Linked DNA regions of Homo sapiens: region 2 is linked to region 1. The links are contacts of gene promoters, found by promoter capture Hi-C in blood cells and fetal thymus (Javierre and others, 2016). All regions are on one chromosome and are shown on one strand. Each heading gives the region's core, a stretch centred on a gene start or on the middle of the fragment in contact. The rest is flanking DNA. Distances are from core to core; before and after follow the strand shown.

Region 1 (7,097 bases), core at 2,882-5,381:
AGGGGCCATCGGGGACCTATTTGGGGCAGAGTCAGGGGAGGAGGCAAAGAGCTTTGAATGCATGCCTTCAAACCTCCTCGACCAGCCCCACACAGAAATGACTCAGCTTGGAGTCAGAGGGAACCACATCTAATTTGCCACTTTCAAAATCTCCTGCATAAGAATCATTGTTGTCATTATTTAGAAAAGCCAACTACCCTCACGTTAATGAGTTCTTGAGTTCTGTCCTGTGAGATTTCTGGGGTGTACCTCACTTTGTGCAAATGGGAGAGTAGTATCTGACAAAAAGTACACACGGTGGCTCTAGAAAATCCTTGTAACCCATCGTTTCTCAGCCTTTTGGATAAGATAAAAGTGTGGAAAATCCTTGTGTCCTAAATTCCCCTAGGGCAGCTGGCACTCCAAGAAGCCCTGCAGGATGCTGCACACAGGCTGGGGTTCACTCCGGTACCCTCCCTGCAGGATGCTGCACACAGGCCGGGGTTCACTCCGGTACCCTCCCTGCAGGATGCTGCACACAGGCCGGGGTTCACTCCTGTACCCTCCCTGCAGGATGCTGCACACAGGCTGGGGTTCACTCCGGTACCCTCCCTGCAGGATGCTGCACACAGGCCGGGGTTCACTCCTGTACCCTCCCTGTAGGATGCTGCACACAGGCCGGGGTTCACTCCGGTACCCTCCCTGTAGGATGCCGCACACAGGCTGGGGTTCACTCCAGTACCCTCTGTGTGGTTCATTGATAGGTTTTCTTCCAGTGGGACACAGTCATCCTGGGGAGAAGTCACTGCTATAGATGGTTCCAGACCCTTGAGTCTCTTCTTCCCAGGAGGGGAGGATGGGTTATAAATAGCCTGGACTCCTTCAGCCCTACACAGGCACAGATCCCACACCCCCGCCCCAGCCTCAGCCAGCTGGTCCTTCCGCGCCCAAGTTCCCACAGCCTGCTATGAGAGGGAGGACAACTGCCCACCCTCGGTGGGGGCAGGGAACAAAAATGCCCTGGTGACAGCCTCCAGTGAACTGTAACTACAACCCCACCACTCCTTCATACCCCCTTCACACCGCCCCTGCTGGAGAGGGGTGAGAGGCCGGTAATATTACTAGGGGGTCTCTTATACCCTGGTCAGCCCAGGAAGCCCAAGTTGCGTGCTGAGAATGTTAATTCAGTGGGAAAAGTTATAGGAATAATACTCTCCCCGTCTCTCTGCCTCAGTTTCTCCCTCTGTAATATGAACAAATAGCTGAACTATCTATCTTGTGGGAATGCTGATGAGATTAGCATGCAAAAAAAGTGAAAGGCATCGTAACACTGTATTATTATCAGAATATCAGACATTGACTTCTTCTGTAGGACCCCTAAACACAGGAGATGTGGAGTAAGGGGGCACTGATTTCTATCTGTTCATGAAAGCAGAAGAATTATACCCGGCAACTCTGCACTAGCCTTGAATTCTTGATACTCTGTGTCCTTGAAAGCAATCAAACTTACAAAATATTCTCTCTTGCAAGTCATTTCTGACTAATACAGATTGACACACATTGCATCCAGCTTATTTTCATAAAATTCTGCTGGACTGTATATGACATTATAGACTGAAATCTAGCATCGCCCTAGAGTATTATGGTTTTGGAGGAAAAAGTTCACATAACAATCACTCTGGTTATCATTCAATTCCTTCCTGCTCATACACACTGGTACAAAATAAGTGGCTAAAATCAAAGTGGCCAACTCGTAGTTCTTTTTTAATTTAGACACTTTGTTTGCTCAATAAAATACAGAGTAAAAAACATTTACTGAAAACCCACTCATTGATGTTTAATGGCTGTGTCAAATACTCATAACAACATTTATTCCAACACCCCCAGATAATTGCTCATCTTTCTCATTTGGTATCCACAACAGCACAGCATTTGTGTCCAAGTGTAATTGATCCAAAATTGGGCTCCCTTTCAAAAATATCTGTAAAATCTAATTACCAGGAAAACAGAGTTCTGGCATCCTATGGAAAGTGGGTGCTTCAGTGAAAAAAAGCTGCAAATTCTTCTTGGCTAATCAAGCTGCATTGTGTTACAAAAGGAGTTTGAGGAATTTGGGATAATGAGGGAGCAGGAAAAGTTGGGATAGTGTCAGACTGGACTTTGCAGTGACAGTCCTGGTTTTTTTAAGCCAAGGGCACGGGACGGGAAATATACCACATTCGCTGGCAAGCATGGATTTAGAAAGTACCAGATAAAGAGGCCATGATGGGCTTGGGGTGTGGGGGTGGCATTTCTGATCTCAAGCCCTACCAGGCCTTGCCCAGGGAAGTCTCTCCACCCTTGCCTGGAAGGCTGATGTCATTTCTAGTCTCACTGGGCCTCTAGCCACTGTAGCAGGTCACTTTCCTTCCTTGGGCCTGAGTTTGCTCATCTGTAAAATGAGTGCTCCTAATATCTCTAGGGTCTCTTTCAACTTCAAAATCCTATGACCTTCTATAAAGCAAAGGGCATGCTTTTTGCTCATGTACTTGTGGGGGCAGGGAGCGGGAGCCACCGGACCAAGGAGAATGAAGGACTGAGAGTTTCCACCTCTCACGCAGTTTTGTACCTAGTTTCAACACCCGGGTATCTGGCCCGCTCTGGGAATAATGATTTCTTTCAGCCCAGGACGACCTACCGAGGTGTTTCTACCTCGCTGCCCTGGATTCCTCAACCCCGCCAATGAAGAACAGGGCCAAGCCACCGGACTTCTCGGAGCCTCTCTCCCAGGTCTGGGCACAGTATATCTTCTTTTAAGGGGTCTTCCCTTCCCACTCCCACTCCTCTTTCTGTCCTAGAAGCACCAGAAACTCCGGCTCTAGCCTTGCGCATGGTCCAGCGAGACTTCCCATACAGGCAGCGCACGCCACCCACCCCCAGCTCCCCTCGGCCTTGCGCCCGCGCCGCGGAAGGTTGGGTACCAGCCTCCACAGCTTTGCAGATTGCAAAGATAACGGGAGCTGCCGCTTCGCTTTTCTTTGGCTCCTCCTGGCCTTCATCCTAGTAAAACCAGACAAGCAACCGGAAAAACAAAGCAGCACAGCGGCCAGAGACAATTCGCTTTCAACGGAGCAAGAGACGTACACACCTTGAGAGAAGACGCACGCAGTTCCCGTGCGTGTCGCTGGGAACAGACCTCGCACTACCCCGCGCGGCGACAGGCACCGGGCCAGGCTCGGCTTCACTTGTCCGAGGCTTGGAGGAACTGTGTGCGTGCGCCCATTTCCCCCAGCTTCCCGACTTGACAGCAGCAAGGATCTTTGAGTCCTGCATGAGCGACACCTCGGGCAAGGACTGTACTCTGCTCAGATCTCATCGAGAGGTGCTGGATCCCAGCCTTTCCAGCTCATTTTCCAATTTTCAAGAAAAGACAGCGCGAAGTGAGACTGCAAAAGTCCCAGGAAAACGTCACTCACCAAAACGCTCCCGCGCCTTCCAGGCAGAAGTGCGGTAAAACTTTTGGCAGAAACCACCTGTGGCTGCCGACGGGCCCGCCCCGCTCGGGCCCGCAGGCGCCGCCGAGCCCCGGGCCGCACGCGCCCGCAGAAGTTCCTTTCCAGCCCCGCGCGCCACTTCGCTCCGGGCCGCGGTGCCAGCCAGGAGGCGCGGCGCCCGCTCGCTGGCTCGCTCTCCGCTGGCTCTCCCCTCCCTCCTTCCCTCCCTCCCTCCTCCCGCCTCCTCCGTTGCATGGCTGCCGCACGGAGCCCCTGAATAGCCACCGCAGCCCCCCGCCTCCTGCCCACCGCGCGGAGGGCGCCCCTGCTCCAGCCGGCGCCCCAAGGCGCGCGGACCGCCGGCCTCCTAGCAACGGCCCCCGCAATCGCTTTCCGGCGCAGCCCAAGCAAAGCCACCCGCCCGCCGCCCCGCGACCTCCCGAACTGCCTCGGCTGCCGAGGTGCTGTGGAGATCGCGACCCCGGCAGCCGGCGCCCGAGCCCGGCGCGCGAAGCCGCTCACCTCCGCGCGCCGCCGGCCCTGCGCGCCTCCCGCACTTGGCTCCGGGACGCAGTCCTGGCGTCCTCCTTCGCCGCCGGTGTCCGCCGGTCCCTGCGCGCCCGAGCCTCGCCGGCCGCGCCGCTGTCAGAGTCTCGTGGCGGGGCTGCGCCGGCGGGTATGGAGCTGAGCGGCGGCAGCGGGCGAGCGGGCAGCTCCTCCCTCCCCGCGCCGCGCCTCCGCCCTCCCCGCGCCCCGCCTCCCGCGCCGCGGCTGTCAGCCCCGCGCCCCGCGCCCCGCGCCCGCGCCGCCGGCTCGGGGGGCGCACAGGGCTAAAGGGCCCGGATGTGTGCGGTCGCCTGTCGCTCGCGCCCGCCCCCTCCCCGCCGCGCGGCACATGCACTTGCTGCGCCGCAGCCCCCGCCCGGCTCCGCTAATTTCTATTTTGACAGTAACTGTGGCGAGTGGGCGGCGCGGCGGGGGGCGCCCGGGACTGGCGGAGGCTGCGGGCGGGAGTCAGGACCCGACGCGGAGGCGGAGTGGGGGGGCCGGGCACCGCCACCAACCGCTCGGGGCTCCGCGTCTTTTCTCTTTCTTTCCTTTTTTCTCTCTGCCTCCTCCAGGATTTAAAGGGACAGCCCCGGCAGAGGCGAGGGGGCCAGGCGGCCGCCGTTTCTCCGGTCTCCTGACGCCCTCTGCGGCCCGGCCGGACCCGCCCGCACCCCCAGCGCAGGCTTGGGACCGCCGGGTATTTTTAGGTCCACACCCGACCCGGGGCAGCGGTGCGGCAGAGATGGGCTCTGCCGACCCGGGGCAGCGGTGCGGCAGAGATGGGCTCTGCCGCCCCGGCGCACGGCTATTTTTACAGAGTCCGATGGGGGAGGAAATAAAACAACTCGGCAACTGCTTTTCTACCCGAAAGTCGGGAGCAAGGAGTGGGGGCGAGAAGTTAAGTTTCCCAAATGCTCTCGGCACTCCAGCGAGCGCACCAAGACGCCTAGCCAGCACCTGAAACCGCAAGCTTGCCGCACCCCGGGGCGCCGAATCTCAGCGGGCAATCGCGCTCGGCGGCGCTGCGGCCCGGAGTCCCCACCCCTCTGGAGCCTTGGGCCCCGCACTCCGCACCCCACACGCCGGGGAGCAGCCGCTGGCCGCCCGTCACTCCCCGGGTCGGCCTGGAAGGCGGCCTTCCGAAGCGTCCAATCACCGCGCAACAATGCCAACGGGCGGGCCCGGGGAGGGCTTGTCCCCGCCCCGTCCCGCCGGGCCCCGCCCCCTCGGAGTCTGTCGGGGCAGGAGAATCTCGCTGGGACGCCGAGTGCTCAGCGGTGCTGGAAGCCACGAAGGGCCAGTGCGAGGGGAGGAGGAAGGGTCCTGGCCCTGGAGAGGGCGTGAGCGTTCTCGGGCGAGGCGACACTTGGGCAGATGTTCCCTCCAGCTACGGGCCGGGGAAACTCGAGCTGGCTTTGCCTCCTACCTTTTTGCAGTCCACCCCTCTGCGCTCCAGACAGACATAGGAACCCTCGCCCTCCTTGGTAGTACATCGGAGGCAGCACCCTCGCACGTCAGCGGGTCCTCTCCGGGGCTCCTCCCTCAGAAGCGGGAAAGTTTGTCGTCCTCAAACTCCTACCCGGCTGCGCTTATCTGAGGCGCACCTGGCGCCCAGGAGAGGCGAGATGGCGAATCCCGGCCGCCTAGTGCCCATTCTGGCTACGGATTAATAAAAGGGCAGTGGGGCTGCTGCTGTGTCCTTTAATGCTGAAGACACTGGATGACATTTTTTACAGAATTCACAAAAATAAGTTTGTGAACCTTTGGTGCCTCTTCCTAATATCACTTATTGGGATTTTTTTTTAAACCATTTCATTCATTCGTGTAATAAACGCACATTGCAAGATAGTACGTTGGGAGTAGTGAAAACAAGGGAAAACGGGCTCTGGAATAGGATGTAAGAGTGGAAAACTAGATATGAATAGAGGGATCTGAAACGTAGGGTTTGGGTACAATTATGTCACGTTTAATTTGCCAAAGAGATCTGGTTTTTCCTACTAAGTAAATTTCACCAAATGAACAGTTTGGACAGCCATCTTATCCAAACTATTCAAATGCACATGTAAATCTAGGATAGTCTATCGTGGAACCTAAGGTATGTTCAGGCTCAGGATGTCAGATTTCCAAGTTGCTAAAGCTTCCAGAATGGCAAAATAATATATCTCGCTTTCAGCAGCTGTGGCAGCCACTGCCCTCTCATATTAGGTTTGTCTCTCTGTTAAATTAAGTTGCCTGTCTTGCTTCCCTTCATTAAAGGGTTTTCAGTTACTTGGAATGCTGCTGACCCAGCTGATATGGCCCCGCTTCTAAGCCATAAGTCTGGCTGCGCCTCATGCCAAGCATGCGGATGCATTTAGAGAGCACCTAGAGGATCCCAGCCCTGCAAATGCCCAGACACCTGCAGGAAATAGAAATGTAGTTCTGGGGGTGAGGGCAGCTACAGCCATAAAAAGGGCATTTAGGTTGAGAAAAGAGGGATGTGGGCAGTAAATTAGACTCTAATAGTAAAGAGTCTAGTAAATAGTAAATAGACTCTAATATAAATGTGGCTCTAAATCAGAAAGTTTCTCCTCTCTTCTCTGGCTCAAAGTAGATGTTCTATAGCTTTAGCTCATGGAATAGCGTAAGCATGGAGATCCAGTGAGTGCTGTAAGATTTATTTGCAACGTACTAGTTTGGATGTAAGTGCAATGGTAAACGTTGCTTTGCAATAATTAATAGAATTTACTGCCAAACTTTAACAGTTATCAGCCATGTATCCTAGAAAAAAAGCATGTCATTCAACTCTCTAAAGCCTCCATTTCCAAATCTGTAAAAAGGGAGATAATAGTAGGTCCCTTTCTACTCCATAGAGATGCTGGAATGGTCGGGTGAGAAAAGGCGAGGGCAAGTGTTGCCCCATGAACAACATTCATTAAGGGGTTACTGTGTATTAAGCACTGTAGAGCACATTGTAAATTGTCAATATTAGTTATGGTGATAAACTCTAAATAAATTATCTGAGAATTGGGATCAAATTTTTACCTATTTCCCGAGGATGTTGAAAGACTGATTCAAGAAAAAAGAGGGGAATTAACATTTACAGAGCTCTTTCTA
Region 2 (7,097 bases), core at 2,328-4,827, 180 kb before region 1:
CTTGGAACGGCCTCCGCCCAACACTGTGGGTTACCTTCAAGTCTCATCTTTCTGTTTGCTCTTAGTCTCCCTTTGCCACAGGAATTTCAAATGACCCCAAAAGTGTCAACGATTGTTTACACTGTCATTACTGTAATGAAGCCTATAGTGAATAGGAAATAAACTGACCACCTTTTAGAGTTTTGCTAATTCTTTCAGGTCCTAAACAGGAAGCCTGTTTTACCAAACCCTGCCTTACCACAAAAATTTTCACTGGAGATTGCTGGACTAGTCTTTGCCTTCTAGCAACGAAATAGGAAACATTGGGAAATTAAGAAAAGAAAAATTATAGGCTGCCTGGAAGGTATTATAATTTTTGCAGACATGGAGGGTCCCCTTGTCCTCTCCTTCTCTCCCTCTCAGAGTGAGAGGGCAGGAGTTTGGGTGAAACATTGTTACAAGGGGTAAGTGGTACACTAAAGAGCATAACTTCTCATTCCATATGAAAAGTCCAATGCAGGTGTTTCTGCAATGTAGCAATGGGAGGAAAGGGATGGGCATCAAAGAGAGAGAGGTGAGTGGGGCAAAAAGGTGATGGAGAGGCCGCCCCACCTGGAGGATGCTTCCAGCGTCTCCCTGAATGAACAGGTTGCCATTAAGCAAGTTAGATGGGGCAGGAAGCATGCTCAATGGCATGGCTCCCGAGCTGGGGAGACAGGACCTGGCTGGAGAGTATGACTGCAGGCAATAAATAGCAGTCCCAAGAGTGATAACCAACAGGTCCTCCACTCACATCCTCACATTTCACCTGTGCGGGCCTCAGTTCCTCATGGGAGAGGCAGACTACGAGACTGATTGCTGGTTCTGACCACAGATGATTTTGTTAAGGGTGAGCCCTGAGAGCAAATCCCTTCCCAAGCCTGCCTCTGGCCAGGAGGATGTTGCAATCTGCCTGGCACAGACAGCACTGGGTCCTTGCTATGAGAGAAGGTTATGGCACTGCTGGCCTTGCTGCGGATGGGTGGGGCACATCCTCTTGGGCCTCTCTGTCTCTCACCCCTGCATCCTCCTCCCCAGTAGGACCCCTCCTCACTGCTCCACCCACCAGCCTGAGAGTGGCTGCCAAGGGTGGAGGCTGCAGCAGGAAGAAGGGCAGTAGTCCTTGCCCACTGTGGTTGCCGCCCCCCTGCCTGCCCACAACCCTTCCCTGCATGCCAGGAGTCAGGAGGCTCTGAGTAGAAGCAAAAACCAGAGGCCTTTCAGCTCAGAGGGAGTCTCTCTCTCTCTGTCTCTCTCTCTCTCTCACACACACACACACACACACACACACTCGTGCTCATACACACTCGTACATGAACACACCCCCATGCACCCTTACGCCCCCACTTGTGCAGGTGTGCACACCCTCTCATACACAAACACACTCTCACTTTAGACTTTAACATCAAGGATATTTCTGTTCCCTTCTCTCTTCTCCTTCCCTCACAAAAGGACTCCAGCTGGCTCTCCAGTGGCAGCCACAGAGCCTCGAACCATCTGGAAACATAAGCACGGCAGGATTGTGCGAGGCTGGAGGTGAAGACAGCCGGGGTCATGGGAAGGGAGGCGGAAAAACAAGACAGTGCCAGATCCCAGTCAAAACAGCATGTTCGTCCCGCTCAAATCTCATCAAAATGCCAAGATTCCCCCTGCCACGTGCCCGCCCAGGCAGCTTGCCCCAGACCCCGACATTCTGCCTGAGCTGTGTGCCACCAGCCTTCCTGCCCCATTCCACCATCAGCACCCACTCTGGTGACTTCAAAAAACAGCCACACAGTCTAATTTTAGCTCTAATCTTCCCTGGCCATGGTTGTGTGGTTTCTAATTATTTTATTCCCAAGATTTACCTTGATGGATAGTTATACATTTTCCAATTTACTGTACAATATCTTGTAAAGTGCCCTTTAAAAAAAATGTGTGGATAATTCCATGTTGTTAATTTTCCCAGCTCTAAGGAGAAATCTGCAGATAATCGCCTGCCCTAGAAGCTCTGATTCAATCCCCATTTCCTTTAATACTAATAAAATGGACAGTTCATTTATAAGAAGTTCCCTAAAAGAGGGTATGAAAAACATTATATTTCTTTTAAAGTTGTTAAAGGGCATAAATCCATTACTCAGATAGAGATCGCTTAATAATTTAATGCCTTTGGCTTGGCATTGTTCCCAGAATATTTTCACTTTATCTGTCTTTATTTCCAGGTTGGAACAAATTGAGGAATAATCAGCTCTGTTGGCGGGAATTGTCGAAGAGTCTGCAGGGAGGCCCGAGGAAGACGTGGGGGAGTTGGACAGCCTTCCTGACTGTCCATCTCCCTCATAGGCCTTCAGTCCAAGGAGCGGGGCAGGTGTGGGGCACTGAGGGGGTGGCCAAGGGGGAACAAGGCTTTCCTTTTGGCCTCCACGTGGTGGGGAATGTGCCCTGCAGGTTGTCTGGCAGGCTCTGCTTTCCGGGAAGCAGGGGGCTGCCTGGGAGGCAGCCACCCCCACCTCCCTCCCTCCTGCCCAGTGAGGCAAACAGGTGGGAGGGCCTCGAAGCAGAGCCTTTCTGCAAAGGGGATTAGTTTGCATTTTCTAAATAAAATCATTTACATGATGTATTAACCCAACCCCATAATTAAAATCATTAATGTTTCTTTGTGCAGATTAGCCAAAAAGAGAAACTAAGTGCAGGAATCAACATTCCTTCTTACAGGCTCATCAAACAACACTCCCCTGAAGAAGGCTTGAAAGCTTCATCCACCAGTCCTCTCCCCAACACAGCAAGGTTTATCCCCTGTTCAGGGATTCTTGCTGACTAGTTTCAGCAGTGTTTGCAGGATGTCTGCCCCAACCTAGCTGAAAGCAACCCAGTGGGAAGCTGGTTGGGAGCTGGAAGCAAGGCCTGAACAGGACAGTTGGGCTTAAACACAGCTCTCAGACGGAATCCCTGTGTATTCCTTTTCCTTGCTCCTCAGTTTCCCCTAAAAAAATAAAGCCACTGAACTAAAATGATGCCTATGGGATCTTCCTAGAAGTTTCCCAGCACCATGACAGGTGTGCTGCTCCCATGCCTGGGACAGATTTTTGGCCATAATTGGTGCTCAGCTCAGGTTTGTTGAAGAGAATGGAATTGAACATGCTGGAAGGGGATGGACATAGGATGGGAAGAGGTGAAGACATCATCACATCTGGTGCAAGGATGTGAGCTGCCAGTGGGTGGGGCTGTGCAGCTACTGATAGTCCAAGGCGAAAGGGCAGCCTGAGGCCAGCAGCATGGCGCCATAGAGGAAGAGTTAACAAACACTGCTAGGGGAAGGTGCAGAGTGAGAGTGCAGACCCAGGCATCTCTGCACGGAAAGCCCCCTGCCCCTACAGGCTCAGAAGTGCCTGCTCCCGCTGCCTGGCCTCTCCCTGCTCCTGGTGCCCACTCTGATTTTGGAGCAAAGTTGTGGCCAAGCCTGGGAGCTGTCACAAGCCAGCTGGGTATGTGCATGCTCAGGCCAGAACTGACACACCAGACCCCTGCTGCCTCGGCCCCCTCTGGACTTTGGGTGCCAAGGAGAACGGGAGGGAGTCTGAAGGGGTGCTAAGGGTGGCTTGGTGCAGGCTTGCAGGCACCTTTGGCACTAACAGCCTGGGCGCACTGGCACTGTGGATGGCCGGTTAATGGTAGCAGGAGGCAGACAGGCTCCTGGGTAAAAAGTGCAGGTCCCTGGTGAAACCCCACCTTCAGGCCAGGGACAGCCTGAGGCCTGGGGGCCAGGCTGCCATTTCCACAGACCAGAGTGAGAACTTATGGTGCTTTTTCTGGACCCTCCCATGGCCACCCATAGACCAATCAGAGTGCACTTTCTCCCCTCTGAAGCCCATAAAAACCCTGGTCTCAGCCAGACTTGGATAGACAACAGGACAACCTGCCTGCAGAGAGGAGCTACCCACTGTACTCTCTACTGAGAGCTGAGAAAATAATAGGATGAACTGCCTGCAGAGAGCAGTTACCCACTGTGGGTCTCCTCTCTGCTGAGAGCTGAGCAGACAACAGGCCAACCTGCCTGTGGAGAGGAACTACACGCTGTGGGTCTCCTCTGAGCTGCTCTGTTGCTTAACAGAGCACCTTTTTGCCTTGCTCAGCCTTCACTTGTCCACGTACTTCATTCTTCCTGGATGCAGGACAAGAACTCAGGACCCACCGATGGTGGGGCTGAAAGAGCTTTAACACAAACAGGGCTGAAGCATGCCCCTTGCTCATTATATTGCAGGCACCAAAAAGGAGAGAAGAGAGAAGGAGAGAAGAGCTGCGGCCCTTTGGGAAGCCCAGACCAAGGAGCTCCCTGAGCCAGGGCTGTGACACCCTCTTTAGGGCTCTGCGGTTCCAGGCACCACCAAGTTCCCCAGTGCCAGCCATGTAAGCTTCTTGTGGTAGGGTCTGGTCCCGGCACAGCCTTGCAGGGAGCTGGTACCTGTGCCAGTGCCTGGTGCTGCCCACCCTGCTGCAGCCAGCATGCTTAGCTGTGCACAGTGGCCAGACCCCATGCTCATTTGCTCACATACCCCTCGCTGCTCCACACCTGGCTCATCCTTGGCAGGCGTGGGATCCAGGCCAGTAGTGCCAGCTGAGCACAGCCTGCCAGGCTGAGTGGGCAAAACGAGCCCAGGAGGCCTGAGCAAAACTCAGGCAAAGGCACTACTGGCCACAGAGGTTTCCAGCCAGAAAAGTAACACTCCAAGGATCCTGAGACAATGTGAAGATAGAGGCAAAGATTGGAGTGGTGCATCCATCAGCCAAAGAACACTGATGATTGATGCTAATCCTCAGAAGCTAGAAGAGGCAAGGAAAGATTCTTCCCTATAACCTTAAGAGAGAGCCCAGCTAATACCTTGATTTCAGACTAGAACTGTCAGAAAATACATTTCTGTTGTTTTAAGCCACCTACTTTGTCATACTTTGTTATGGCAGCCCCGAGAAACTAACACATCTGCCAAGATGCCAGACTTGTGAGTGATACTATCCTGGACCCTCTAGACCAGCCCATCTGCCAGCTAAGTACCACCATATGACCTCAGTTAAGGTCACCTGGAACAGAAGAATCATCAGCTAAGATCTGTCCAAATTCCTGATCCACAAAATCATGATATATAATAAAATGGATTGTTATTTTAACCCATGAAATTTTGGGGTACTTAGTTTTGCAGTAATTGAAAGACATACACAGTAAGTCTGTGGCTGAACTGGAACTAAAATTTAGGTCTCCTGCCTCCTAGTTAATTCAGTAGGGCTTTCCATTCTCCATGGCTTCTCCTGCTCATAAGCCAGTTATTATTCTCAGCAGTTTCATTTGCATACATCTCATAAGTTTTATCCCAGTACCCCAGTTAAGATGTACAATTCATTGAGAACAGATAAACAGCATGCCATCTTGATGCCACCATCAACACCAACCCCCTGGTTGAGTGTTGGAGGTGAAGGCTATAAGCAACAGCAAAACAACAGAAACAAGAAGGGCATGTAGGTGAAACAGTATATAAGAGTACAGGTTTTGAGGTGGCAGGGAGTAAGGATGTTGAATGGGAGAGGCATGTCATGGCTTGAATATGTCCCCTCCAAAAGCATATATTAGAAATTTAATTCCCAATGCAGCATTGGCAGGTGGGGTCTAATGAGAGGTGGTTAGGCCATAAGGGCTCTACTCTCACGAACAGACTAATGCCATGATTGTGGGAGTGGGTTTATTATAAAATGACAAGTTTGCACTCTCTCGCGCGCACGCTCTCTCTCTCCCTTCACCCCCCACCTTCCTCCATGAGATGACACAGCAAGAAGGTCCTTGCAAGATGCCAGCACCTTGATATTGGACTTGCCAGCCTTCAGAACTGTAAGAAATAAATTTTTCTTTATAATGTATCCAGTCTCTGGTATTCTCTTACAGAAGCACAAAATGGACTAAGATGAGGTGAATTCAGATTGTAAAAGGCTTTGAATGTCAGGCTAGAAAGCCAGAATACAAAGAGCATACATAACAGTGGATATCCTAACAGGAAGACCGGTGAGCTGGAATCAGTCAGTGCTATCTTACTGCCTACATTACTGCCCCTGTTCTAGCTGACTGGATGCCACCTGCTTTCCCCAGCTTCCTAGCAGTTAAGGACACTTGTGAAACACCTGTACTCAGAAACGCAGCTACAACATAAGCCAAATCGACAGCACTTTTGAAAATCAAGGTCTGCATGTTGAGAGCCATGTTGTTTTTAAATGGGTGTTCATAGTTTCTGGGATAGGTCCCATATTCATCTGTGCTTTTTTAATAAAGGGAAATGTTTAGGTAAATTATATCAGCTGCTGCCAGGGGGTGGGAGGCTGCTTGTGGCAAAGCCCAAAGGCCGAGAAATTCTAGAAATGCATTTATGAGATTTCAACCTTGCCACCTCAGAGCCTCTCCAGGTGGTAATGGCCTCTCCTTTGAGGGTGGTTGGGTCAGTTCCATCCACATCAGTCAGTCATTATCTCCGCTCAGTTCCTTCCAACACTAAACTTTCCAGTGAAAGTCCTTTCCCATGTATCAACCTCCAGCGCCACTGATCACAACCCAATAGCCTCAGTGGAATTGCTCCCAGAGGTTTAAGCACCTAGAATGCCCTCCCCTTTTATCCCAATCTCAATCCTATGTGACCCTCAAGATCCAGCAAAAAAAAAAACAACCCTTCTTTCTGAAGTCTTCTGCAACGCTATAGTCCACAAGCAGACTGCTTTCTCTCTGAGTTTACAATGCGTTATTATATACTATACCATATTCATAGTAAGATGTTTTATAATATCTATTATCTTAAACTATTTTACAGCCACCTAAATACATTTTTAATTTATAATTTTAATAAAAAATAAGACACACTGATGGCAGAAAAAAATTGAAAAACAAACATGTATGATGAAAAATAGGTTTCTGTCTAACCCCAACCCCGGTCTTTTCCCCAGAAGAAGAAACTTCTGTTACTGGTTTCTTGTTTAGTTTTCCAGAAATACTTTATGCCTATATAAGTACATGTGTACATGCGTGTGTGTGTGTGTGTATTTACCTGCTAGGGTGCAATACGATTCACAGC

Evidence for each region. The method cuts DNA at HindIII sites, captures the fragments that hold promoters and counts their contacts. A CHiCAGO score of 5 or more calls a contact.
Region 2: a fragment that was not itself captured here is called in contact with the fragment with the promoter of ZBTB7C in region 1 in 1 of 17 cell types (M0 macrophages); the score reaches 7.4 in M0 macrophages.

Annotation. Positions count from the first base shown.
Region 1 is chr18:48,405,252-48,412,348 of GRCh38, forward strand. It overlaps ZBTB7C (zinc finger and BTB domain containing 7C), which reads right to left and starts at 4,132. Exons shown (of 5, transcript NM_001318841.2): 1 at 3,975-4,132. RefSeq lists enhancers at 2,413-3,032, 3,033-3,650 and a silencer at 4,921-5,300. The HindIII fragment of the contact is 6,800 bases long and covers 1-4,969 here.
Region 2 is chr18:48,227,466-48,234,562 of GRCh38, forward strand. All of the region lies in intron 2 of ZBTB7C (zinc finger and BTB domain containing 7C), which reads right to left. Among named protein-coding and RNA genes, the nearest start is that of ZBTB7C-AS2, 21 kb to the right of the region's middle. The HindIII fragment of the contact is 1,659 bases long and covers 2,749-4,407 here.